4 separate regions of the Homo sapiens genome follow, and regions 2, 3 and 4 are each linked to region 1. Evidence: promoter capture Hi-C in 16 types of primary human blood cells and fetal thymus (Javierre and others, 2016). All regions are on one chromosome and are shown on one strand. Each heading gives the region's core, a stretch centred on a gene start or on the middle of the fragment in contact. The rest is flanking DNA. Distances are from core to core; before and after follow the strand shown.

Region 1 (6,472 bases), core at 1,690-4,189:
TTTGGTGCTTACCACTATTCTATCTAGAAGCATTAACAGTATTTAAAATTTATACTATTCTCATTTCTGGGAGCATTCCACATTCTATCTATATCTGGATCTATCTCAGAGTTTACCAAGTCACATTGTCACATTGAACTAATGAAGCAAAACTCTCTACATCCACAATAGACTTTGTTCAAGACTATTTATTGAGCACTTTCTATGTGCCAGCTTCTGTTGTAGTGCTAAGGACTGCAATAGTGGGAATACAAAAGTCCAAGTCTCCTGGAGTTGATATTGTATAGAAAACAAATAAATTAATTAAATACATACAGATAATAATGAATGCTGGGAGGGAACAAAATAGTGTCTTGGGTTTGAAAATATTATTTAAGGAAGCCAGGAAAGGCCTTTTTCATGAGGTAACATTTAAGTTGAGACATGAAGGATGAGAAGCCACTAAAGTGAAGTGCTAAGGAGAAAAACAATTTTCTCAGCACCAGAAGAGTATGCATGACGACCTGACACAGGAAAGAAATGTGTTATTAGAAACCAGTATATCTTGAGCCCAATGAAGAGTTGGGAAAAATGGTATGAGATGAGATGGGAAGTTACCTGAAGTTACTGAATTGTTCCATTAACTAACACGGGAAGTTACTGAAGAATGACATGGCCCAATGGGTTTTATAAAAGCTTATTCTTTCAGCTATGTAGAGAAGGGATTAGATAGGGTTGAGATTAGAAGCTGAGCGATCCCTTAGGAGACTAATTTTCAGGCAAGTCAATATGGAAGATTAGACTAGGGTGTTGACAATAGAAATGGAGAAAAGCAGATGGATTCAAGATATATTTTGGAGGTAGAACCAGTGAAACTTATATTCAGAATTTTCTTAAAAGAGACCATAAGGAAGTGAATTGAAAATTGGGTGAAGGAATGAATGTATTTAAAAGGAAAAGGTGACATTTTGAGGAAAGAAAGAATGGCAAAAGTATACACTAAGTAACAACCTATTAATAAAAGTAACATATTAAAGTGGTCACATTTACAACTCTAATCTGATGTCCTACACTGGGCCTCAATTATCTTAAAATAAGATATTAAACCAAGGCAGAAAAAGAGAAGAAATACTTCAAGGTTTTTAGCCTTAAATGGTTGAGCCCAGGCCACTGAAAAAAATACAATTTACCCAATTAAAATAACGAAGCAAGATTTAACTAAGATCATTTTAGTGAGAAACAGTTGTTCTCACCCTGGCTGCCCATTAGAATTCCCTGGGGAGCTTTTAAAAACTAGAAGCCCAGGTTCCACTGGAGTGATTCCGATTTAATTGGTCTGAGGTAGACCCAGGCATCGGTATTTTTTAAAAAGCTCCTTAGAGAATTCTAATAAGCAGCCAGGATGGAGAGTCTTGAGTTAGAAGTAGAGTACAGCTAAGGATGCCATATCAATAAACCTATTCTGCTAATGAAAGATTAATAGAGAAAATAGGATGAAAGAACTTTGATCCCAGACAAGGAATACAGGCCTATTGGTTACAAGGACATAATTCAAGACCACAAGAAAATAAAAATCCATTTTACTCTGAGTGACTTTTTTTTCAAGCTGGCAGAAAATGGCATTATGCCCACCTTGTTAATAACACGGACACCCATACAGATGCCACACATATTTAAAAACATATTTTATTTCCATTATGGACAACAAAAAGAGAGTAACAGCTGATGGTTGACTACAAGAAAAATATAAGAGAAAGAGGAGAGTGTCAATATTGCCCGGACAAGAAAACACAGGAAAAAATGAATTGCATTGAGAAAGTGATTAAAAGAAATTGATTCCGTTATTTCTGAGAGAAAAAAACGCATATATATATAGAATACACCTAGCAACGAGTTTGCTTGTATCACATGGCTCTTGAGTCTGCACTTTTCAGGATTTAACTCTTAAGAGAGCCACAGAATTATCAGAGCAGAGCCGAAAGCCAAGTAACTATTCTTCTAAGTAGAACCAGAAACCTAGTTCTTCCCCAACTGCAATGAAGATTCGCTGGTGGGTGAATGGGCAACTAAAGGCCAGAGAAGTTCTATTATTTGCCCTAAATCACTCAACTAATTAGTGGTCATACTGGAATCAGAACCAAGATTTTGCATTGTTAGGTTTTAATTTTGTTACATTTGCACTCTAACTGCACTGAAAACAGAAAAAAGAAATGCGTAGTGCAGTTTCTAAATTGCCACAGCTGGAGCACTTTAAGAGCTACAATTGTCCAGTTAAGGCGGTAGTGGGTGGATGGTGCTGCCATGTTAATTCGGTGGAATAAAACCAGAGGTGAGTTAGGCCGGGCGCGGTGGCTCACGCTTGTAATCCCAGCACTTTGGGAGGCCGAGGTGGGCGGATCACCTGAGGTCGCGAGTTTGAGACCAGCCTGACCAACAGGGAGAAACCCCGTCTACCAAAAATACAAAATTAGCCGGCCCTGGTGGCATGCGCCCGTAATCCCAGCAACTCGGGAGGCTGAGGCAGGAGAATCGCTTGAACCCAGGAGGCGGAGGTTGCGGTGAGCGGAGATCGCGCCATTGCACTCCAGCCTGGGAAACAAGAGCGAAACTCCCTCTCAAAAAAAACAAAAAACAGAAAAACAAACAAAAAAAACAGAGGTGAGTTCAGCAGAAGAAACAAAGGTGGATTATTAGTCTTAAGTGTGCGTGCCTACTTCAGGAAGGGAGTGAAAGCAAAAAACTGAGGAGCTAAGGGTGGGAGGGGGAATGAAAGGATCTCAGAATGTGGGCGTCGTGGGTGGGAAAAGGGATGCCAGGACACCAGAAGAGCAATACAAAACAGCTCCCGTGAGCAGGCACAGGAGACCTTCCGCGCCGCCGGCCGGGCGACCCCGCAGGAAGTAGGAAGGACGAGCGCGCACTACAAGTCCCAGAAGCCCCCGTTTCCTGGAGCCCGCGCCGTGCCGCGCTACGCCCGCCGGGAGCCGGGCAGAGCGGCCAAGATGTCGCAGCCCAAGAAAAGAAAGCTTGAGTCGGGGGGCGGCGGCGAAGGAGGGGAGGGAACTGAAGAGGAAGATGGCGCGGAGCGGGAGGCGGCCCTGGAGCGACCCCGGAGGACTAAGCGGGAACGGGACCAGCTGTACTACGAGTGCTACTCGGACGTTTCGGTCCACGAGGAGATGATCGCGGACCGCGTCCGCACCGATGCCTACCGCCTGGGTATCCTTCGGAACTGGGCAGCACTGCGAGGCAAGACGGTACTGGACGTGGGCGCGGGCACCGGCATTCTGAGCATCTTCTGTGCCCAGGCCGGGGCCCGGCGCGTGTACGCGGTAGAGGCCAGCGCCATCTGGCAACAGGCCCGGGAGGTGGTGCGGTTCAACGGGCTGGAGGACCGGGTGCACGTCCTGCCGGGACCAGTGGAGACTGTAGAGTTGCCGGAACAGGTGGATGCCATCGTGAGCGAGTGGATGGGCTACGGACTCCTGCACGAGTCCATGCTGAGCTCCGTCCTCCACGCGCGAACCAAGTGGCTGAAGGAGGGCGGTCTTCTCCTGCCGGCCTCCGCCGAGCTCTTCATAGCCCCCATCAGCGACCAGATGCTGGAATGGCGCCTGGGCTTCTGGAGCCAGGTGAAGCAGCACTATGGTGTGGACATGAGCTGCCTGGAGGGCTTCGCCACGCGCTGTCTCATGGGCCACTCGGAGATCGTTGTGCAGGGATTGTCCGGCGAGGACGTGCTGGCCCGGCCGCAGCGCTTTGCTCAGCTAGAGCTCTCCCGCGCCGGCTTGGAGCAGGAGCTGGAGGCCGGAGTGGGCGGGCGCTTCCGCTGCAGCTGCTATGGCTCGGCGCCCATGCATGGCTTTGCCATCTGGTTCCAGGTGACCTTCCCTGGAGGGGAGTCGGAGAAACCCCTGGTGCTGTCCACCTCGCCTTTTCACCCGGCCACTCACTGGAAACAGGCGCTCCTCTACCTGAACGAGCCGGTGCAAGTGGAGCAAGACACGGACGTTTCAGGAGAGATCACGCTGCTGCCCTCCCGGGACAACCCCCGTCGCCTGCGCGTGCTGCTGCGCTACAAAGTGGGAGACCAGGAGGAGAAGACCAAAGACTTTGCCATGGAGGACTGAGCGTTGCCTTTTCTCCCAGCTACCTCCCAAAGCAGCCTGACCTGCGTGGGAGAGGCGTAGCGAGGTCGGAGGGGAAAGGGAGATCCCACGTGCAAGTAGGGGGAATATCTCCCCCTTTTCCCTCATAGCCTCTAGGGAGGGAGAGTGACTTCATTCTCCATTTGAAGAGATTCTTCTGGTGATGTTTACTTAAAAAGTGATCCCCCTCAACAACGGATACAGCGTGCTTATTATTGGGCATTTAGCCTCAAAAGCATGTAGTACCAAGCACTTGTATTTCCGTATATTTTGTTTCGCGGGGGAGTGAGGGGGAAGAACACGGATGAAAATGTCAGTTTTTGAAGGGTCCATGCACATCCCTGACACCTCACACCTTATCTAAGTCTGAAGCTGGGGAGAAAGGGGTTCATTTAGACTTCATACATTTCCAGTACGACTTTAGTATCTCTCCAGAGCCATATTTTCTCAGTCCGAATTAATTCCCCCTCCCTAGGTGCCTGTAGGCTATGGTACTTCTTCCTCATTGTTTTCTAGGTAAACTTCACTACTGGTAATTAAGGGGAAGGATATGAGGAAGCAGTTTAAATAGCCCTGTTCTCATTACTCTGACCACATACATCATAGGGTGCTAAAGTTGATGAACACATTAATCCGTTAAGTAAAATGGACTTTGTAATTGTACAGCATACCTAAGAAACTCAGAAGGTGCATTTAAGAGAGAGACCTGAAAGAAATAGTATGGATTTTTAAAAATTCTTGTCTCTACTATTATAACCAAAAAATATTTCTTGTATGTCCCATAAAAATATTTGTGTAATTCTTATGAAACAGGCTGGTAGAGGAGGTTTCTGAGCCTAGCCCAAGGGCTTATTCATCACCATGGGTAAATTATTTAAACTCACTTAATTAAGGAAAATATTTTCCCAGCTAGAAAAGTATACTCATTCTCATTTAAACTCTCTCATTTGGAGGGATCATGTGAGTTGGCCTACTTACAAGTAGTGAAAGTTCCCTTTTCAGTTTTGTTTTGTTTTGTTTTGTTTTTCTCTTTCACTCAGCCAAATGTGAAAGTTGTGAATTTAGGAAAATCACTTGTAATGAAGTGTGAATCTTGTTATCAAATTTATTTCTCTGATGTTTCCTTCCTTATCCTTGTAGCCAATAAAACATTGACATTCTCACGTTTTATAGATGAGGTAAAAAGTCTTGTGTGCTGTGAGTTATAATGCTTTTGCCTTTTTAATATTATTAGTTCTTAAGTGTTACAGCCCCTTCAGAATATAACTTCAGGACAATTCAAACTATGCTTAATGTATGATTTTCGAGCTTCTGTATGCTAAGAAAATAGGTGTGAAAAACTGGTGTTCTGAAATAGCCTAACATTTATTGTAATTCTGAATTTTCTGCCCTTTTATTCATTGCATATTAAAGTATTAGAGTATAAAAACTAATTTGCTAAACTTTGGTTGTATATAACACAGATCTTCCATCATGGAGAGATATACATGTACAAAATTATCAATTTACAAGATAATTGAGTAGCAAGCAGTACAGTTGTAACCGTCACCATTTTGATGCTAAGATAGTGATCATCTCATGTAAATGCTACAGTCACAGCAAGCTAGACTTAAGCTAGAGGGAAAATAGAGCTCCTTATAAGGTGTTCTATGTTTTAAATCAAATATTTATTTAGAGTTTGAGTGTGTGATTTTGAGTAGGTTTCTGGTGGTTTGGTTTGTTTTTTAAAAAAAACTTGATTTAACAATTCCTTTACTAAGTGATAAATGAGAATATTCTTCCAAATTCTATTTTTTATATATTTGATAAATACTATAGAGTTATCATTATCAGTATAAGCACATAAAGGGAACCTCAGTTAAAACTTGGAGGAACTATAGAAGTAAAGGGTATGTATTCCATAGTTAAAGTAAGCTTCAGGATTTTTATTACTCCTTCCCAGAAGAAAAATGAATTATAAAAATACAGCGACTGAAGCAATTAGTCAAGAGTTAGCATAACATAATGGCTACAAAATTGGACTCTGGAGCCAGACAGCCCATAGTAGAACCTAGGCTCCACCACTCTTTGTGACCTTGGGCAAAATATTAAACACCTTTTTTTCCTTCAAAATGGAGGAAATTCCTCTCGTATGCAAAATGGAGATAACAATAGTACCTATGTCATAGATGTGAGAATAGAATGAGTTAATACATGTGACTACATAATGTCTGGTATGTAATAAGATCTCAATAAAGCCTCAGTGTGGTAGTTAGGGAAAAGTCAAACCTGGAGCACTTGGATGCATGCAAAATGTGTGACAGAATAAATATTCAACATTTTGATTTTTTTTACAGGTATTCAAC
Region 2 (6,726 bases), core at 2,059-4,558, 540 kb after region 1:
ATATGGAAGATTAAGCAAATGATAATCTCTCCCTGCTGTCTGGATGTACATGACACCTACCTAATAGCTGTCCTTGTTACTCAGGCCATTAATAATATGAGTTACCCCCTATTGTTATTCACAGATGGAGAACATCCTGTCTTCAGTCAGATGTAGCAAATGAAAAGAAACAATACTAAACCTCAGTTTCAGAGTAGTAATTATTGTTCTTATTTATGAAATACTTGCCTTTCTAAACCAAAATAAAAGGAACAGCTGCTTGCTGAATATACAGCAATTTCTACTTTCCTGCACTTATTTTCTTTCAAAATGGCAGAAAAACAAACTTATGCTTTTTCGTGGTAAACAAAAGTTGATAAAGCACAAATGGTACTTGAGACTGTTTTTAGTTTCTGATGAAGTATAGTACCTGTCATAGCTCCGCATATCTGCTACTCACAGAGGTCAATGTAATTCTTTCCAATTTTCTCTTATAAATAATTTGTCTTAAATACATCTAAACCTAATGTAATAACCACATGCCATCCTTCAGACTATCGTTTCAGAAAATTTCGCAGGTTGGTTTCATAGATTCTGCAGAAATCTGAATCTCTCTACTGTAAACTGAAACTGAATAATAATTCACAATAAAAATGTATCTTATCATCAAATGAGTCCTGTAGATATAAAATTTCTTATAAATATCTGAAATGAAAATAAACGAAAAATCACTTTTAACTTAATTATTCAATGTTTCTATTGGAGCGCCTTTTTAAAAATAAAAAATAAAAAAAAAAAAACAGAAAAAAAAACCACTTGTTTCTTCTAAAAATCCCACTGCCATCAACTTAATATCTCTGTTCAGTGGTTATGTTCAAAGTTCCCCAGACAAATCAATGAGTCCAAAAATCAGCTGAAAGAAGAAAAAGAGAATCATCAATGATTTATTATTTATGACAAAACTTGAGTATGTTGTGGAATGCACTGTACCAGGAGCTTCAGAGGTCACAGAGATTATAAAGATAAGCCTCCTGCCATTGAGGAATTCTCATCTTGGAAGGGAAAGTTCAAAGGCAGGAGAGAGAACTTTGTTTTGTGTATCCAATGGGAAGGGTGACAGAAAGTTTTGTAATACAAGTAGCTTGGCTTAAACTGAAGAACTAGTAAAATTACAATAGCCAGGAACCAGGGAAAGATCATTTTAGGTAGAGCAGGCAGGCTGGAAACAGACATAAAGGTGATAAACAAAGACCACCTTTCATAAGCTAAAAGCAGCATAGTTTGGCTAAAGCATTGGATAAGGGAAATGGCAATTTTTCAATCTCACCTATAAAATGGGGCTAATAAACCATTTCACAGATGATAACAAAGAATATATAAAGTACCTAATACATGTGAAAAACTGTAACAGCTACCCCATTATCCCATGTGCCAGGCCCTTTACATGGCTCCTTATAACTTTCACTCAAGAACATTATGAAATGGGCCTTATTCCCATTGAAGCTCAAATATCAGTGAGGTGAGTGAACTTAGGCAAAGTCACATAGCTAGCGCCTTTATCCAAAGTTTGTGCTCTTAACTGTATCATACTATTAGCAAATAGTGCCTAGCAAATGTAAATACAAAAACAAGAGCCAGGCATGGTGGTTCATGCCTGTAATCCCAGCACTTTGAGAGGCTGAGGCAGGCGGATCACCTGAGGCCAGGAGTTTGAGACCAACGTGGCCAACATGGTGAAACCCTGTCTCTACCAAAAATACAAAAAAGTTAGCCAGGTGTGGTGGCAGGTGCCTGTGATCCCAGCTACTTGGGAGGCTGAGGCAGGACAATCACTTGAACCTGGGAGGTGGAGGTTGCAGTGAGCCGAGACTTTGCCACTGTACTCCAGCCTGGGCAACAAGAACGAAACTCTGTCTCAAAACAAAACAAAACAAAACACCAAAAAACACACACACAAAAAACAGGGAGGCAAAAGTGAAATAGTTTTTGCTATGTGTTCATGATGTACTAGGAACTTTGTTTTCTTAGACTTAAAATGTTAGGGTCTTCCAAATATTATATCTATAACTTGAAAAATATGTATTTCTTCCTTTCTTCCTTGGGCCCAGATAATGTGGGTCCTTGTTGAAGCAAGAAATTTGTAATCAGACCGACCTTTAAAAGCAAAGAGAAAAAGAAACAAAAGACCATGTAGAAGTTTGTATCTCCAAAATGGTTTCAATGATCAGAATATGCATTTGTATTTTGGTGAATTTTAACATGTTTTGCGCAGACAAGGTATAGAATTAAATTCTACTTAGTGACCAATATTGCTATTCATTTTTTTAAAATATAAAGCAAAATTTTGTGAGGTCTCTGGAATACACACACACACACACACACACGTATACATAATGTCACTGATACAAACGATACCGAAGTTTCTCCTAGTCTTATTACTTAAATTGAGTAAAATGTGTTATTTTCTTTAGCAAATGTGAAAACAAACTTGAAAGGAATTATAAGCCATAGCTTTGAACTTCAACGTAATTTTGTTATAGGTAATATGAATTTTATGATTTTTGCTATGAATTACAATTTATGTGAATTTGGCTAGAAACCATAGAATTATCATACTGAAAAATGATTTGGTGATTATTTAATACTCGCCCACCCCCAAATTTTATGGAAGAAAAAATGAGTTTTCCAAGGCCTAGGGTCATGCGGCTTACTTAGTAAGCTGCAAAACACTCTTTATCACTTCACTAAGCATGGAAGATATTTTAGTTCCATTTTTACAGTCTTACGAGGGTAAATCTTCCTACATGTTTCTAACTGGGTAGAACTAAATAGTGTCACCATGGATCTTTTCCAATTTGCCTTTATGCTTTCTGTATTTTAGTCTAATCCACCCCTGCCTTAACAGTCATTGACCTTCAGGTACAACAAGTAAATAAGAAGACTCTAAACAAAAGAAATCGCTAAGCTTTCCTTATCTCACACTGACACAGCAGTGTCAACAATTCAAGTCTCTCAAAAATAATGAGTGAGAGCCAGTCATTCCAATTACCAAGGAAACAGGCAATGGAGATGGTTTATAAACAGCATTTGGACATGGACTGTCTCGCATACATGAAAATTAGAACAAAATTAATGCCTTGTAATCTGGATACAGAAATTCATTTAGGATTTGAATTTAATGACTAAGAAAGACAAAGATTCTGATTAACCAAGCTATTGAAACTCAAGGGAAAAAGGTTAGGTCAAAACCACCTAAGGCCAATCTTCTCACTGAGAAACCAGTTAATTTAAAAGAAGCTCTGGAGTTTGCTTATGTTTTACACACTTTCCAGATTTAAATTTAATTCCAGGCCCTATTGTGTTTCACAGATAGAAGAGTAAACTAATACCAATAACAAGAGGATACTGAACTATTCTTAAGAAACAACTCAAATCCACAGATCACTCCTTACTTATAATAGACAAGTGTGTTATTTGACTCCAACATGATAAAAGGTAACTCCATGAAGTCTGTATGATCTTGATTTTGAGAAACCTTCACACCAATTAATCATCTTCTACCTCCTTCCAGAAGTTCAGGTTGCTAAAACATGAGCCATTCCTTCTGACCAAGTATCCATGTGGCATTTCCCAGCCTAGGTTCCAAGGACTGCTCTATGGTGAGGTTCTTGGTGTAGACGTATTTACTGATTCTTAAGCTTCTTTTTAGAATGGTTAAGTCCTTTTGAGTTCTCCAGAAAGTGATTTCACATTGTAAGGACTCAATATAAATTTGCTCAACAAATGAACAGAAACAAAATGGAGGGGTAGCTTCAGATTAGTTCAGCTGCCTCTTCAGCAATTTTTATAGTTATTTACTAAACTTGATAAAAGCACTTTTCTGATATTGAGATTTTTTTTCCAGCTCCTTGTTTTTCTTTTCATAATTACATCCTTTGCTAATGTTTGTTAGTTTCATTTTGCTTTGCTAAAATTCTTAGTCCCTTCCCTTTAACACGCTGTGATACGTGCTTCCTTACAAAAGATGCCCAGATATGGAGACGAAAACACATATGCACGTGTCTCTAATAGTGGCATTGCTGAGATTTTATACATAACATATAAGAAAAGCTTACTTTAGTCCTGTGACAAGTACTTTTAGTTATTTTTCCAGAGAATATCATTGTAGAAACTTTTAAGGCTCTCTGGCACAATTTTTTTTTAATGCTGGGTCTCTATTGCTTTCACTATAATCACAGCTTTTACATGCAGATAGGAACTCATGTATCTATGTCTACCAATCCAGGTCACTGTGGTATTACTGGCTTTTCACATCTAACCTTGGCTTCTGAAGAACTGCCTTGAGCTGAACCCAGGTGACACAAAGCTAAATTCATTGGCCCTTTTCAGTGACGATTCCTTTCATCTTCTTTGCTTGTCTCCTCTGATGGGAGTTACTTTTGCTACTTTCAAAGTCTGCAAGGCTGGCAGTTATCTTTGGCTCTGCAGCAGTTTTTTAAGTCCCATAGTAACTATAACACTGTGGAGCAGCCTCATTACCATCCAAGGAAGTTCTGCAGGTGAAAGCTCAAGCTGGTACGTCTTGCAGAGATGTGGAGAGCCCCTGTGCGTGCTTTTATCATGTCTCAGCTGTGTCTGTCATTCATTATTTGTGCATCCACTTGCCACCTCCCTCCAAGTTTTCATTTTATGAAGAACCTCCTCTGGTCCAATTCTCTCTGTGCTCAGCCTGCTTGTTTCAACAGAATGTAAGTTACTTCCAGCAGGGAGGATGCCTGGATCTTGGTTACAAATTTGACAGAGTTTACATTTTCCAGGACATGACCTTGCTGCCCATCCTTAGCTTTTGAACTGGGAATGATCTTTACATCCATAGAGATTTTCTTATTTTTCTTTCAACTCAAGATGCTTCAATTTCTTTAAAACACTGACACCTGCCTTGAAGCAGTTCTACATTTTTGGATAAGGCATTCAAGCTGGCCTATTTTGTAAGGCTCCCTTACACTCAGTTTAACTTTAATGTTAACATCTGCAAAGTGCTTTGAGATGTTTTCTGGAAGGATGCAGTATGTATCATTTGATTGATGGTTCATTCAATGAGTGGTCCTTCCCAATGTTACTCAAGGTACTTAGCAGTACAAATGCATCTTATGTCCTATATCCAAACTCTTCATTATCTCAGAAACTACCAAACTTGAGAAACATACTTGAGACCACTTAAGGAAATGTGAATTTAGAGTTTACTGTTAGCAACGCATACATGATGATATATACACATTGTTTAAATGACATACACAAAATATTCTTATATGCTAACAAAAGTATGAATAAGTTCTATTTTTTTTAAACTGGGAATAATCCTTATTCATTTGATGTGATTTGACAATATACTATTTCCATTTAAATATACAATTCCTATGAAATATCAACTGTTAAGTGGCAAAAATGTTACCTTGTTAATGCATAATTATCTAAGGTAATGAATGAGAACCATGGTAGAGATCACTTAAAATAGCAAAAAATACAAAAATCTTTTCAATTTGACTTTATATTGCATTTTATAAAAAATGAACCTAAATGTTAGACATATTTTACTAATTACAACTTTTTGTGTTATAATTTAAAATACTGTCCTCTGCCTGAATCAGGACATAGAGGCAAAGGAAGAAAAAAAGAGGAAAGAAAGGTATATTTAAAATCTGCTGTATCATTTAAACACAAACCAAAACTCTATCTAAACCTGCAAACAATTTACAATGAAGATTACGATTCGAGCAATATAAAACTTAGAGATTTATAAATTAGAATTTTCAGGATTTTGTTGCAAAATTAGAATATGATTATCTTTAAATAACTTTTCAGTGAGCAAAATTTCCAAGAAACTATAGAATTAAAATGACCTTTCTAACAAAAGAAAAATAAGGATCCCAGATTGAAAAGAAATAATCAATGCTTACCATTAAACTTTTAAATTTTCTATTTTCTGCAATGTGAAAAAAGCCATCTCTTGTTAAAATCTTGATGTGCTTTGCTTCATTATTGTACCTGTGGGCAATGAATAACTTATGAATATAAATGTGTTTTTAATCAGTAGAAATCAATAATTACCAGAGGGCATGCCCCAATAACATTTTAGGAATTAATTCTGCAGACAAAAATATATACCTATGCCAATACACTGGTGACAGCTAATTAACAAAATATATTTACTGGATTGGTTGAGGATACAACCAATATTTGAAGTGAGAAGGGAGGTTGGATTTGACTATTCATTATGCACAATTTATTAAGTTCAGTTTGAGAATACAGAAAAATAAGACAAAAATCTAGAAATTTATACTGTTAGTATTTACTAGAAATATACACACATCAAACCACCAAAACACAATATTATGAAAGAAATCTAATATGCCAATTAGCAACCTATAACACTTTTTACTGTTTTTCAAAGATATATTTTCAAGTATTAATGAACTGTCTGGATAGATGCATTATTTCTCCTTCAATTAGAACTTTGGTTTTCACCTTCAGTGTTATACATGTCAGATGGTCTATGCAATTATGAAAACAGGAAATCTATTTCTGTAAAAGTACTTGTCCTACTTACTTAATGCTAATTGCATATTCTCCTGACTCTTTGGTCCTGTGCCTCACAAGGTAAGTACTATTTACCCTATTAATAAGTTCGGTCTCTGCTTGCAATCTTTCCATTGCTCCAGCATACCTGTAAAAAACAATGACACAGAA
Region 3 (6,749 bases), core at 736-3,235, 690 kb after region 1:
AATCCGTACATACCCCTATATGTATAAACCTGTAAGGCGGTGGCTGCTGGTTGCCTACAACTACCCATTCCTCCCTTCTTCCATAGTAAAAGAACCTTAATTCTTAGCCAGGAAGAATCCTACCTAGAATAAAGGTTTTATTTGCCAGCCTCCCTCGGCAGGTGCGGCCACATGACTATACGTTGGTCAGTATTATGTAACAGAAGCGAGTGGTATTTCTACAAGGAATCCATAAAAGTGGGATTACTTTCTGCTACCTAGAACATAAATTTTATACCTAGAGCTCTAGCAGCTATCTCAGACTACAAGGTAACCACTCTTAAGGAGAGAAGTCAAATGCTGACAATAGTATTTATCTTGTCAAATCTCTTTTTTTTTTTTTTCAAGACGGAGTCTCAGTCTAGTACCCAGGCTGGAGTGCAGTGGCACAATCTCAGCTCACTGCAACCTCCGCCTCTCAGGTTCAAACAATTCTCCTGCTTCAGTCTTGCGAGTAGCTGGGACGACAGGCATGTGCCACCACACCCGGCTAATTTTTGTATTTCTAGTAGAGATGGGGTATCACTATGTTGGCCAGGCTGATCTCGAACTCCTGACCTCAGGTGAATTGCCCACCTCAGCCTCCCAAAGTGCTGGGATTACAGGCATGAACCATCACACCTGGCCATCAAGTCTCTCATATCCACAAATTAACTGTTTGTTTTATGGCAACTGAACAAAATAGTAACTGACATGCCTGTCATACAGTCCAAGGAACCTGCCTGCTCTAGGACATGAAATTCAATTTCCTTCTCTGCAGACATTCCTTCACTCATCTGAAGATTATATAGCCAAACGAAACCCATAAAAAAAAAAGCCTAGCATATAAGAGCAAAGGCTCGAGATCAGCTCTGTCTTTGCATATTACCACTAACCCAATCATCCTATCACTCCAATTCAAATTGTTTAACTCCAAGTGACTTCCTAAAAAGAAAAAATAGTATACTAGAATATGTTATGTAGTTTTATAAGTCTTGTAAGTATACTAGAATCCCAAATGCAATTATTATTAATAATAATAGCAATAATAATAGGTATCACCTATTGTTCAATATCACATAGCTGTAGCTGCTATTGTACTATTTGGCTAGCTCTCTGCTGATACATATTACCTAGAATTTGAAATAAATATCATTCCTATTTTACAGATGAGGAAACTGAGGCTGTGAGAGGTTAAATAACTTAGCTTTCATTATGCAGCCAGTTCATGGCAGTGATAATAGATGAACCCAGAATTGACTATAAGCTTAAATATTTTGGCTATATAATCCTGTCTTCAAAATATTAGATAAAATAATCCTGAGAATCTTTATTTTCCTAATTTCAGAACCACAATAAAACATCCTACTCCCACCTCTAGTTTACATTAACACGAGCATTTCTTAAAACAAGGAAAAAAAATTGATAGAATTTGTCAACAACTGGTAAATAATCTTTATAAGCGTAAATAGTTTGGCTATAGAATCCTGTCTCTTAAAATGTTAGATAAAATAACCTTGAGAATCTTTATTTTCCTAATTTCAGAACCACAATAAAACATCCTATTCCTACCTCTAGTTTACATTAACATGAGCATTTCTTAAAACAAAGAAAAAAAACTGACAGAATTTGTCAACAAATGGTATATAATCTTAGAACCCAAATGAAACAAATTCCAAATGTAGTTTTCCTTAATTTCCCCTTTTGCTAACAGTTTTATTTCAGGGTATCCTATATATTTCTACAAAAAGGGTCATTGTGTACCTTTCAATCCTTAAACATCAAAACTAAAAAGAAACACCTATAATGACCTGTTCTTGGTTATTACGTCTCAGAATGCCATTCCTTTTGAAACAGGGTTGATTTATTTTCTACCTCTTTGTTGAGCTTCCTCCTCAGTGGAACTAAAAGCCACTTAAAGAAATCAAGCCCTTAAAGCATTCCTTAAATACACGAAGCATTTTAGCCAAGATTCAAATAAGCGAGTTAAAACAGAATAATTCAATCTTTCTATTAAAAATAAGATATATGCATTTACATATCTGTTTGTGTATGTACACTTGGAGGCATTTCTATTTAAAGGTATATAATTTAAAAATATAGTTATTACATAAAAAGTTTATCATTAGAATAATTAATATTTTCTTGGGCTGCTGAGAGCTAAAGAACTAAAACATGCCTATAAGAAAGTCAAACAGAAGATTAGAGCTCCCTCTTTCTTCTTTTTGAAGGAATTCAACAAAACTCCTCTCCTAGGAGACCAAAGTTATCAAGCAGCCAGCAGCCTAGTAGCACTCCTGCTCACAGCAAAAACATTCCCGTCGCTGTACACATTATACATGCTACAAGCATTAGAGTACACTTATTGGTTGTTCATTATTCATAAGTGATTTAACTAGTAAAAATAAAAGCACTTTTAAAAATAGAAATACTCACAAAGCCATTTCAAACTGTTCTAGCCATTTCTTCTTTAAATCTTTTGTTTTGCAATAAAATTCTAACCCATTTTGTCCTTGGGTATGGATGAGGTAGAAGCCATAAGACCACTGTTAAAATTAATATTCCTTAGATTAATATGTATCATTAATAACATGTTTCTAAATTCACAAGAATACCACAACTATCCAAAAACTCCTCACAATATTATCAATGTACAAACTGAACAATCAAGCTTATTGTAGTCAACTTCATATCTATAACAATTTCTATGCCAAATGCGTTTTATTATCTGGATCATTAGGGCATTAGAAATGATCAGATCTGGCTGTGGCATTATCCAGTTATTTCTCACAAAGTTATGTACCTAATCAATCTCTAGAAACAAAAACATCTGGATTGATAAGCCATATCTCACATTAATGTATTATCATACTTTTCCTTAATGTTCAAGATTATAAGTAAATTACAGTTATTAGTTTCCAAAAAGTCACCTTTTTGTTTTCTTTATCGGTTGTAGGATTATTGGCTATCTTGTACTGCTGAAGATCTATTATTTCCTTCATTTCATAGTTATCACCTTTTCTCTTACATACGATCACTGCCAAATCAAATAAGAAGATATGCCTGGGAAAAAGAGATTGATTGATTGATTTTAAATGGTTTAGAAACATGGGTTATTAATTTTTTTGGGTATAAAGCAACCAAATGTTTTTTTCTTTGCATTAAAGACAACAGGTAGTATCATACACTGAAAACAACGGGGTATTTGAGGTTATAAGAACTGTGTGTGGAATTTCCCTTTACCTTGTAAATGGCCTCAGTGTGCTTTGGTTCCCTCATTTTAAAAATGGGCAAAAATCATAGTAAGAGTAAAATGCACACTGCAGAGTTGTTGAAAGGGCCAAGTGAGATAAGCCATAAAGTTTGTTCATGAGCAATTATCTTTTTTAATTTAAAAGCTAAAAACCTATAGAATAATATTAATGACATCCGTAGCAGCTTCTACTGAAGTTACTAGGAATCAGCCAGAATGCCTTGAGAAGTGTTCATCCCTTTCACAAACATGACTCAATTTAAATCCCCAAGACCACATGCTGGGAAGGTATCATTGCCATCTTCATTTTATTGAGGAGGAAACTGAGGCTTAGAGAAGTTAGATAATTTGCTCAAGATCACACTGCTAGTGAGGCATGTAACAGGATTCACAAACAGGTCTAATTTTGGAAACTGTGCTTTTACCCTCTATATTGTTCCTCATGATTTAATTGGCCACCTAAAAACCCAAACTGAATGGTATATGAGCCAAGTGTAAACTGAAAACGTTATGGTGAAATTTCCATGTTAATATTTCTTTTTTCTTATTAAGAACAACGTAACTTGGGGGAGAAAATAAACCTTATAACCACATCATCCAATACCAATACTTGTGTATTTTTATAAACTCTCAGTGATTAACACACATTTTTTTTATACACAATGATAATGACACATTCACAGGGCTGTAACACTTGCATCACTTTTAACGTCTATTTCTCCCAGAGAGGTTTAAAGGACCTATGGAGCCAGGGTTATCGAGGAAGAAGCAAGAGCTGATGCTGCCCCCTACTGGCTTTCGCTTCTCCAAAGATTCCAGAAAACAATCATTGTCAACCACAAAAACCTCTGTTTGATGATTACATATATACATAATTAAGGACTCCGGGCCAAGCTTACTAATCTTCAAGAACTACATCTGCAAATTTCCCTCAAGAAAATATTACTACGTGATTCTCACTTAATCTTCTTTCTTAGGGCATTTTTCTATTATTTTTGGTTATTTAAAAATATATTCCAAAAATTCAATTATGTTTTTATGGTAGTTATCTGTTCTTACTTTATCGCTCTTCTCATTTTAATGTATCCTAGCTGATCATCTATACTTGTTACTTCCTTCTTAATAACTTAGACAAACTAATAGATACCAGAACCCAGGTGGGAATACCTAAGATAATCTAGATTTAAAAAATTTAGAAATCATGGGTTGGTCTGTCTCCTTGTATTTCTTCCTTTTTTCCCCCTACTTCACACTGGAAAAATTGTCTTTAAGGTTTTCTCAGTTTTCTGACACTAATTACTTATTTTGAAAATAGTATTCTTCTTTTCTTACCTTTCTTGTTTGGTATGCTTGTCTAGAGTGGTTATTCGAATTTCACCATCTCCCTGAGGTCGTCCAAAAAGCAAAACTGGTTGGTTCTAAAATATAAAATGCACATGTCAGAGTTTTTCATAATCACATGAAAATAAAAACAAATATTAGTAGAGATATTTACTCAAGACAACTACCTTATTACATTAAAATGTTACCATTTTTTATACTTTTAAAGCATACTTACTCTAAAAAGCTCAGGTCTACATGACAAATAAGTCTGTCCTCTGTAATCCCAGGGGGTATGTCAAGGACATCAATTGATTTTAATTAGTATATATTCTTAAAGGGGAAATTAGCTATGAAAAGAAAGACTCAACCGGAAGGGTCCAAATTACGAGACGGTTCGGCAATTAATATTTTTTGAGCATCTACTACGTGCCAACCACCATAACAGGTGTACGGCAAAATGATACAGACACTGCCCTCATGAAGCACACTGCGCAGTGGAGGAACAAATATTCACAGAAGCATGCAATTACAAACGCACAATTGCCATGAAGGAGTACAGAAAGGGGCGGGGGGGCGCGCGCTAATTTGGTCTATAAAGTCCAGGCTGGCTTTCTTGAGCTAGGACCTCAAGGACGAAAAGCTCTGAGTTAATTATTTAAAATAATGAGCTATTTTCCCAGAGGCTGATAACTAAATTATTTTTAAGTGTTTATGAACACTTACTGTACACGCTAGAGGAAAAAAGAATTGACTGAAAATCACTAACGTTCAGAAATTCCATTTTAATAAAGGGCAGAGATGTGTGATTAACACTATAAATATAAAAATAAATGTATCTTATCAAAATCCCAGTGATGTTTTCTGCACAAATAGAAAATTCCATTCTAAAATTCTTATGGAATCTCAAGGGATTCTGAATAGTCAAAACAATCTTGAAAAGGAACAAAGCTGGAAGTCTCATACTTACTGACTTGTTTCCAAAACTTATTGCAAAGCCACAATAATCAAAATCATGCGGCACTGGCATACAAACAGGTATATAGACCAACAGAATAGTAGAGAGCCCAGAAATAAGTCCTCACATATATGGTCAAATGATTTCCAACAAGGTTAACACCATTAAATAGGGAAAGAATAGCCTTTTCAACAAATGGTGCTGGGAAAACTGGATATCCACATGTAAAAGAATAAAGGTAGACCCTTCATTACCTTACACCATAAATAAAGAATAACTAAAAATGTTTCAAATACCCAAACATAACAGTTAAAACTATAAAACTTTTACAAGAAAATGGGGAAAAACTTTATGACAATAGATTCAGCAATTATTTCTTCGAGATTGATAAATGGGACTTTGTCAAAATTAAAAACTTTTGTGCCTCACAGACAATATCAACAGAGTGAAAAGCCAACAGACACAAGAAAAGTATTTGCAAACCATATGTCTTATAAGGGATTGATATCTGGGATACAAATAAAGAGCTTCTACAACACAAAGACAAAAAACAACTTGATTCAAAAATGGGCAAAGCATTTGAATAGGCATTTTTCCAAAGAGAATATACAAATGGCCAGCAAACACACAAAGACAATATTCAACATCATTAGTCATTAAGAAAATGCAAATCAAACCCACGATGAGATATTGCTTTAAAACCATTAAGATGGCTGTTACCCAAACAAACCGAATAGTGAGTGTTGGTAAGGATGTGGAAAAACTGAAACCCTTGTGCATTGGTAGTAGGAAAGTTAAGTGGGGCAGCTGCTGTGGAAAATGGTATAGCAATTCTTCAATAAATTAACATAATGACCATACAACCCAGAATTCCACTTCCAAGTATATAACTAAAAGAAGTGAAAGCAGGCACTTGAATAGATATTGGTACACCTGTGACAATAATAATATAACAGTATTATTCACAATAGCTGAAAGAAGGAAGCAACCCAAATGTTCATCAATGAAAAACAGTGAGGTATTTATATAAAATGATGTATTATTCAGCTTTAAACAAATGGAAATCAAAAAAATAAAATGTTGACACATGACTACTACAAGGATGAACTTTGAAGACATTATGCTAAGTAAAAAAAGCCAGTCATGAAATGGCAAATATTGTATGATTTCACTTATATAAGGTGCCCAGAGTAGTTAAGC
Region 4 (6,166 bases), core at 3,631-6,130, 720 kb after region 1:
GGGCTGATGTGCTTCCTCTGCCTTCATTAAGTCCTCATAGACTTCTCCACCTTCATCTTCCCCATAAACACAGTCATAGAGATCTTCTTCATCTTCCACAAGGGTTTCACTACAACAAAGGATATCATATAAGGTCATTTTCTATTATGCAGTAAATGCAATAGCTACAAATAGCCTACTGGATTTTAGTAAAAAATCCAGAAAGGAAATAAAATGGAATTAGTGGAAAGAGTTCAAAAGGTTTACATTACAACTTTGTCCCTCTTAATAGGTACAATGACAACTACAGAATCCAATAACGAGGGCAGTGGCAGCCATCATTTACTGGGTAGTTACTATGTATAAGCACAAAAATAATTATTCTACATATATTATCTTACATAATTCATCCAACATTAATGATCAGGTGTGCATTATTATTTAATCCATTAAAGAGATGAGGAAGTTGAAAGACCAAAAGGCTATTTGACTTTACAAATAACCCAGGTAGTCACTGGCAGATCCAATATTTAAAACCAAGTCTGTCTTAACGCTGAGTGTTTTACCCACTCTATCATACTGCCTCCCACTTTTCATATTTCAAGACCTCAGTTTCATCAACTGTATTAATGGGTATAATATGGAGAAGATAGGAGAGTTAAATTGTATCTAATATGTCATAAGTGGTCTTATAAAAGCATCAGTTACTGCAGTGTTATAATCAGCATCTAATCCAGTGGTTTTCAACCCATGCTCTTTCAAGCCCATTCAGAGGAAACCCACCAGTCCCCCATCAACCAGACCCTTCCTTTATCTGTTTTATATTCAGGGCCATAACTAACATAAAGACAGATGAGGAGAGGAACAGACAGAGATAGGAGACTGGGACAACCAGACTTGGTGAACACTGAGAATAAGGGAGGGAGGAGGAAGGAAGAGGAAGGAGCTTTCTACTTTGGGACACCAGGGAGATGGTGATCCATATTGGCAGTAACATAATTTCCATACTGAGGGGTTTAGGCGGCAATCTGGCCAGAGAACATTAGGGCAGGTAAATCGGTTTGCACATTCTCTGTACCACATCAAAGGATAGGAAGGTCTGGTGAGTTCATGAAGGAGCTGAGATATAAAATGATGAAAAAACAGGTTCTGCATTGGAGGGGATCCTGTTTGGAAGCAAAATGGACTGAAATTCATTTCCCTGGCACTCCTAATCCCAGAACTCCTGCTTGTCATCCCTAACATCACCACCCCTGCAAAAAAGTCAACCTTGCTGAAGTCCTACATTTCACTATTTCCCATGACAGTAAAGGAATGAATCATATAAATTAGCACAGACTTTTCTCTATTTTTGCTGTTGTTGTTGTTTGGGGGACAGAGTCTCACTCTGTTGCCCAGGCTGGAGTACGGTGGTGCAGTCTTGGCTCACTGCAGCCTCCACCTCCTGGGTTCCAGCGATTCTTCTGCCTCAGCCTCCTGGGTAGCTGGAATTACAGGCACGCACCACCATGCCCAGTTAATTTTTGTATTTTTAGTAGAGACAGGGTTTCACCATGTTGGCCAGGCTGGTCTCAAACTCCTGACCTCAGGTGATCTGCCCACCTCAGCCTCCCAAAATGTTAGGATTACAGGCATGAGCCACCGCGCCTGGCTGACTTTTCTCTATTTTAAGACCTGTAAGAATGACATGCATGTGTGAGTGCATGCGTGCATGCAAGTGCACAAACGCAAACACACACACAAGACTGGTCTAGAACTGTTTGGCTTTTGTTATTCAATCCTTTACTAAAGCTGCTTTTCTTGCTAACAGCTTAGTCAACAATTCCTGATTTCTGAGCCAGGAAAGAAAAAAGCTGTGATATTTTTCAAATGGTCAATAAATCAAAAACAATCGACATGTAAGGCCACCTACATACGGGCATGTCTGGCGCCCTGATACTAAAAGGACACTGTACAGTGTAGCCATTACCTGCCCTCTCCACTCCATCCTGTGGCTTTCTCCCCAACTTAGGAAACAATGATTGCCTCCACAGTGGGGACCAGGCCAGTATTTATTCCAAGGGCTTCCGTTTGGGTGAATGCAGCCCCAAAATTTAGAGTTAAGTATATTTACCCATAGAAATTGTAATAAAGCTGAGAATAAAAATCAAGCTGTCACAGCAAACTCAAAACCAAGCATGTCTAGGGATAATACATTTGCTTTTTTTTTTTTTTTAAGATAACCCTACTTCACCTTTTATCCCAGAACTTTGGGAGGCCAAGGTGGGTGGATTGCTTGAGCCCAGGAGTTGGAGACCAGCCTGGGCATATTAAATAAATAATTTCTTTAATCCTGCAAATACATTCGGACCTTCGGCCACCAGGTAGAAATTTAAAGCAGACTGCCTCTCACAGAGCAAGGGCTGGCATCTCAGAGCAGCCAATTCAGGAAACCAAGGTTTTCTCCAAATTTAGCTAGGAATGCATCCTCACTGGATTTATCCTGACATCATGTCTGCCTAAATAACAGTGAAAAGAACAAAATGGGGAAGCTATAAAAATTTATAGGTGTAAGTCACCACTGGTATGGGTTAAAAAAGAATATCGACTGGGCACAGTGGTTCACACCTGTAGTCCCAGCACGTTGGGACACCAAGGCAGGTGGATCATGAGGTCAGGAGTTCGAGACCATCCTGGCTACCACAGTGAAACCCTGTCTCTACTAAAAATAAAAAATTAACTGGGCGCAGTGGCAGGCACCTGTAATCCCAGCTACTTGGGAGGCTGAGGCAGGAGAATCACTTGAACCCAGGAGGTGGAGGTTGCAGTGAGCTGAGATCGTGCCATCGCACTCTAGCCTGGGTGCCAGAGCAAGACTCAGTCACAAAAAAAAAAAAAAAAAAAAAAAAAAAGAATAGCATCACGGCACTAGAAATTAAATATTCCCCTTAAACAATCTGAGTACATTACCAATAATCTTAGTCACTTTATGAAGATTACAACCAATTCAATAAAACAACTGGCACTATCTTGCTTACTGTTGGTGAGTTCTTAGAGATTTTAAGAGATAAGAAACTACTCTTAATAGATATTTAAAATATAAGACTGAAAGATCATTCTCAAGGCCACCTACCCTGGAAAGAGCTGCTGGCCATCCATCGTGTGACTGCAGTGGGTGTGCTCACCCCCTCTACTCTTCTACTAAAAGCTCTGAGAGGGATCTGGAAGTTGGGGCTGTGACTAACAACCTCTGCTCTAGAATAAGAGGTGTCTGAGTTCAAATCCAAAGACTACAATTTACTAGCAATATTACCCTCAGCAAGTAACTAGGCTTTTCAAAATTCAGTTTTCTCACTTTTAAACTGTGAAGATATAATAACAACCTAGTAATATTGTGGTATTACATAAGATAGTGCATATAACCTGGTTAGCACACAAATGGAAACTCAGTAAGCTCTTATTATTATTGCCAGGTGTAATACCTGGCAAACAGTAGATGCTAGATGCAGTTTTGACTTATTAATTTGGAAAACAAATACTTATTGAGTACCTACTATATGCCAGACACTGTGAAGTTCTAGGAATACAGCCATGAACAAGGCAAAGTCCCACACCTCACAAAAGTGTACCTTCTAATGAGGAGACAAACAATAAATGAAGCAAACCAAGACTGTCTCAGGCATTGGCAAATGCTGTAAAAACACAGCAATGTAAGGGGGTGGTGGCAATTTTAGACAGGATAGTCAGAGAAGGCCTCTCTGTAGGGAAATCTAAGCAAAAACTTGAACGCTGAGGGATCAGTCAAACAGGCAGAAAGAATAGCAGGTGTAAAGGTCACAAGGCTAAAACAAGCCCAGTGTGTTGGGTGTATGAGGAAGGATAGATGAATGAATGGATGAAGTTCCATAGCATTTGAATCTGTCTTGGGGCATAATCTATTTCTTATTATGATTCTTTGCAAACATGCCTGATCCATGTCATCAGTTCCTTGAGGAGTAACGATCACGCATATATTTATTTGTAATCTGTACAAGTCACTCAATCAGCAGAAGATAATCGGCTGCAAGGACCTTTTGCCTCTCTTGACTATTAAATAATAGAGCCCAAAAAGATTCTCTGTTCAGAACAAACACCGCCTACTAAAACATCCCGAATAGCTCCAACCCACACTTATCTCTCCCTTCCTTGAACTTATAAGGCATGCACTATGTGTCCCACAACTCCAGCAGCAGATTCTATTTCTTTTAAATTGTTCCCTAACTCCAGTTTTATCTACTACTTCTGTTATGCCTTTGAGAAACTTTGAAATTTTACTTCATTAGAGTAAGTTTCTTTATTCTTCATGGGGACACAAAACAGGAACTAAAAACCAGTTGAAGTACATTTTCTTGTAAAGCTTTCCATCGCCAGTTTAAGGTTAATCAGTAATTAAGCCACTTTTCCTCCTTCAGATAGCTTACTTTAACATCCACAGTTAAAACCCACAATGGACACATAAATTGGCAGTGGCTAAATTTTGCTTGAAATTTTCAACATACTCTATTAAATCAGGAAGGCCTTTGTAGATGTCTTCATCATTAATGCTTTCTTCTGTTGGGAAGGGCCTAGGAAGAGGAGAAAAAACAAAAACAAAAAAACAAACCCATGAGTGAACGAGCAACAATCAGGCTGCGCACTTAACCCTCACTAAATATGTAAGTTGTCTGCTGCCAAAATGGTCAGATCAGTCACCATGTCTAACAATATCTAGGGCTTTCCCTAAAGTGCCTGCTCAGTGGCTTTGTCTGGGGTTCCCCTAGGGAGGCTGTAACACCTGCCACCTGAAATCATCTGAAGCAATTACAGCTGGTCACCACAGTCACATGTGCAGGGGGTCATAATAACGTGCTTATCTGATCTCCCACCTGCCACATACCTGCAGGGTCACCTCACCCACTGCAGCACCCCAAGTCAGACAACAAACAGCTGTGCATGTACCCTTGCCTTCAGCACCCTCTCTTTTCAGCTGTGGGATCTGATAACAAATAATTTGGTAGCAATCATCCTTCCATGGCTCCGTTCACTAGTGTAGATGAAAACTAGTAGAAGACAAAAACATTGTGCCCTTTACATATACGGTCATTGACCCTGACATTTCTGCTCAGACTTTAGGGTATTTAAGCTGTATGTTTTATTTTCGTTTATTAGACAAATGAGTCAACCAGACCTTGGGGTGAATAGAGTGTTTTCTTTGTTCCCTATTCAAGAAAATCACCTTTAATGTATCTCCTATTCCCACTGTGTGGCTTCCTTGTTTGCATCATGGTACTATGTCCTTTTTTCATAACTGCCTTAAATTTATGTCTAACAAAATCACAGTAAGCATACTGTGCCAAAAATTCTACTCTTTTCAGGCAGCCAGCATATCACATGTTTCATAAAAACCAGAGGATCCATCAAAATAATAAATAAGCTTTAAATAATTACTAGTTATATTAAAAGCAGAGTTTCACATTGACTTATGGATTAATTTAATACTGAAGACATTTGAGGAGACTAGGTTTTTCAAATAAATCAGTGTGTGAGAAATGTAGTCTCATAATCATTTTTTATAAATTAAGGCACATTTTATTATGCAAGTTCATTGTAGAAAATATAGATGAGAAAAAAAGGAGAAAAATTTTGACTTACGTTTTTTCAGAATCAATACATAAAAATTTGATCATGCTTTAAAAAAATCTTTACATATAATAACATAAAATATATATTGACATGAAAGGTATGCATGTATTGAAGAGCAAATTAGGAGTTAAACATTTATCCAGCCGACAGACCATATACATAGAAAGCTGCCAAATTCATGGCCCATTTCTGAGAAAGGTCCTGTACCAGCAGGGCATTTTTCCTGAGCTCACTGTGCTTTGTAGCCAGTGCAGAGAACCCCACTAAGTCCTGCTTGGATCCTCTCTCCCTTAGAATGTGAATGTGAGCTGGACACAGAAAAATGGCTGTGATGGCCAGAGACAGAAATATGGAGCACTGAATAAAGAAGGTAAAAAACAAATTTGATCCATTTCCATGAAACCAGGCTGAGTAGAGACTGTTTTGCTTTATTTCCTAATGTTACTTATATAATACATCTTTGCTGACTGATCTAACTTAAGTATGTAGTATCTGAAACAGAAAAGGCTCAACACAACATACACATCTATATTTTTATGCTTATCAA

What was found. The method cuts DNA at HindIII sites, captures the fragments that hold promoters and counts their contacts. A CHiCAGO score of 5 or more calls a contact.
Region 2: a fragment that was not itself captured here is called in contact with the fragment with the promoter of PRMT6 in region 1 in 1 of 17 cell types (fetal thymus); the score reaches 7.6 in fetal thymus.
Region 3: a contact is called between a fragment that was not itself captured here and the fragment with the promoter of PRMT6 in region 1, in 1 of 17 cell types (fetal thymus). The highest score is 9.0, in fetal thymus.
Region 4: a fragment that was not itself captured here is called in contact with the fragment with the promoter of PRMT6 in region 1 in 1 of 17 cell types (fetal thymus); the score reaches 5.7 in fetal thymus.

Annotation. Positions count from the first base shown.
Region 1 is chr1:107,053,735-107,060,206 of GRCh38, forward strand. PRMT6 (protein arginine methyltransferase 6) reads left to right here and starts at 2,940. Exons shown (of 1, transcript NM_018137.3): 1 at 2,940-5,560. The coding sequence starts at 2,982. The coding sequence ends at 4,109. RefSeq lists enhancers at 3,172-3,221, 3,242-3,381, 3,392-3,521, 3,532-3,741. The HindIII fragment of the contact is 2,330 bases long and covers 674-3,003 here.
Region 2 is chr1:107,596,461-107,603,186 of GRCh38, forward strand. It overlaps VAV3 (vav guanine nucleotide exchange factor 3), which reads right to left. Exons shown (of 27, transcript NM_006113.5): 23 at 6,587-6,703; 24 at 5,937-6,024. Among named protein-coding and RNA genes, the nearest start is that of MIR7852, 300 kb to the right of the region's middle. The HindIII fragment of the contact is 733 bases long and covers 2,943-3,675 here.
Region 3 is chr1:107,746,514-107,753,262 of GRCh38, forward strand. It overlaps VAV3 (vav guanine nucleotide exchange factor 3), which reads right to left. Exons shown (of 27, transcript NM_006113.5): 13 at 4,604-4,689; 14 at 2,949-3,081; 15 at 2,455-2,564. Among named protein-coding and RNA genes, the nearest start is that of MIR7852, 150 kb to the right of the region's middle. The HindIII fragment of the contact is 1,404 bases long and covers 1,284-2,687 here.
Region 4 is chr1:107,772,735-107,778,900 of GRCh38, forward strand. It overlaps VAV3 (vav guanine nucleotide exchange factor 3), which reads right to left. Exons shown (of 27, transcript NM_006113.5): 4 at 4,497-4,562; 5 at 1-109. Among named protein-coding and RNA genes, the nearest start is that of MIR7852, 120 kb to the right of the region's middle. The HindIII fragment of the contact is 1,056 bases long and covers 4,353-5,408 here.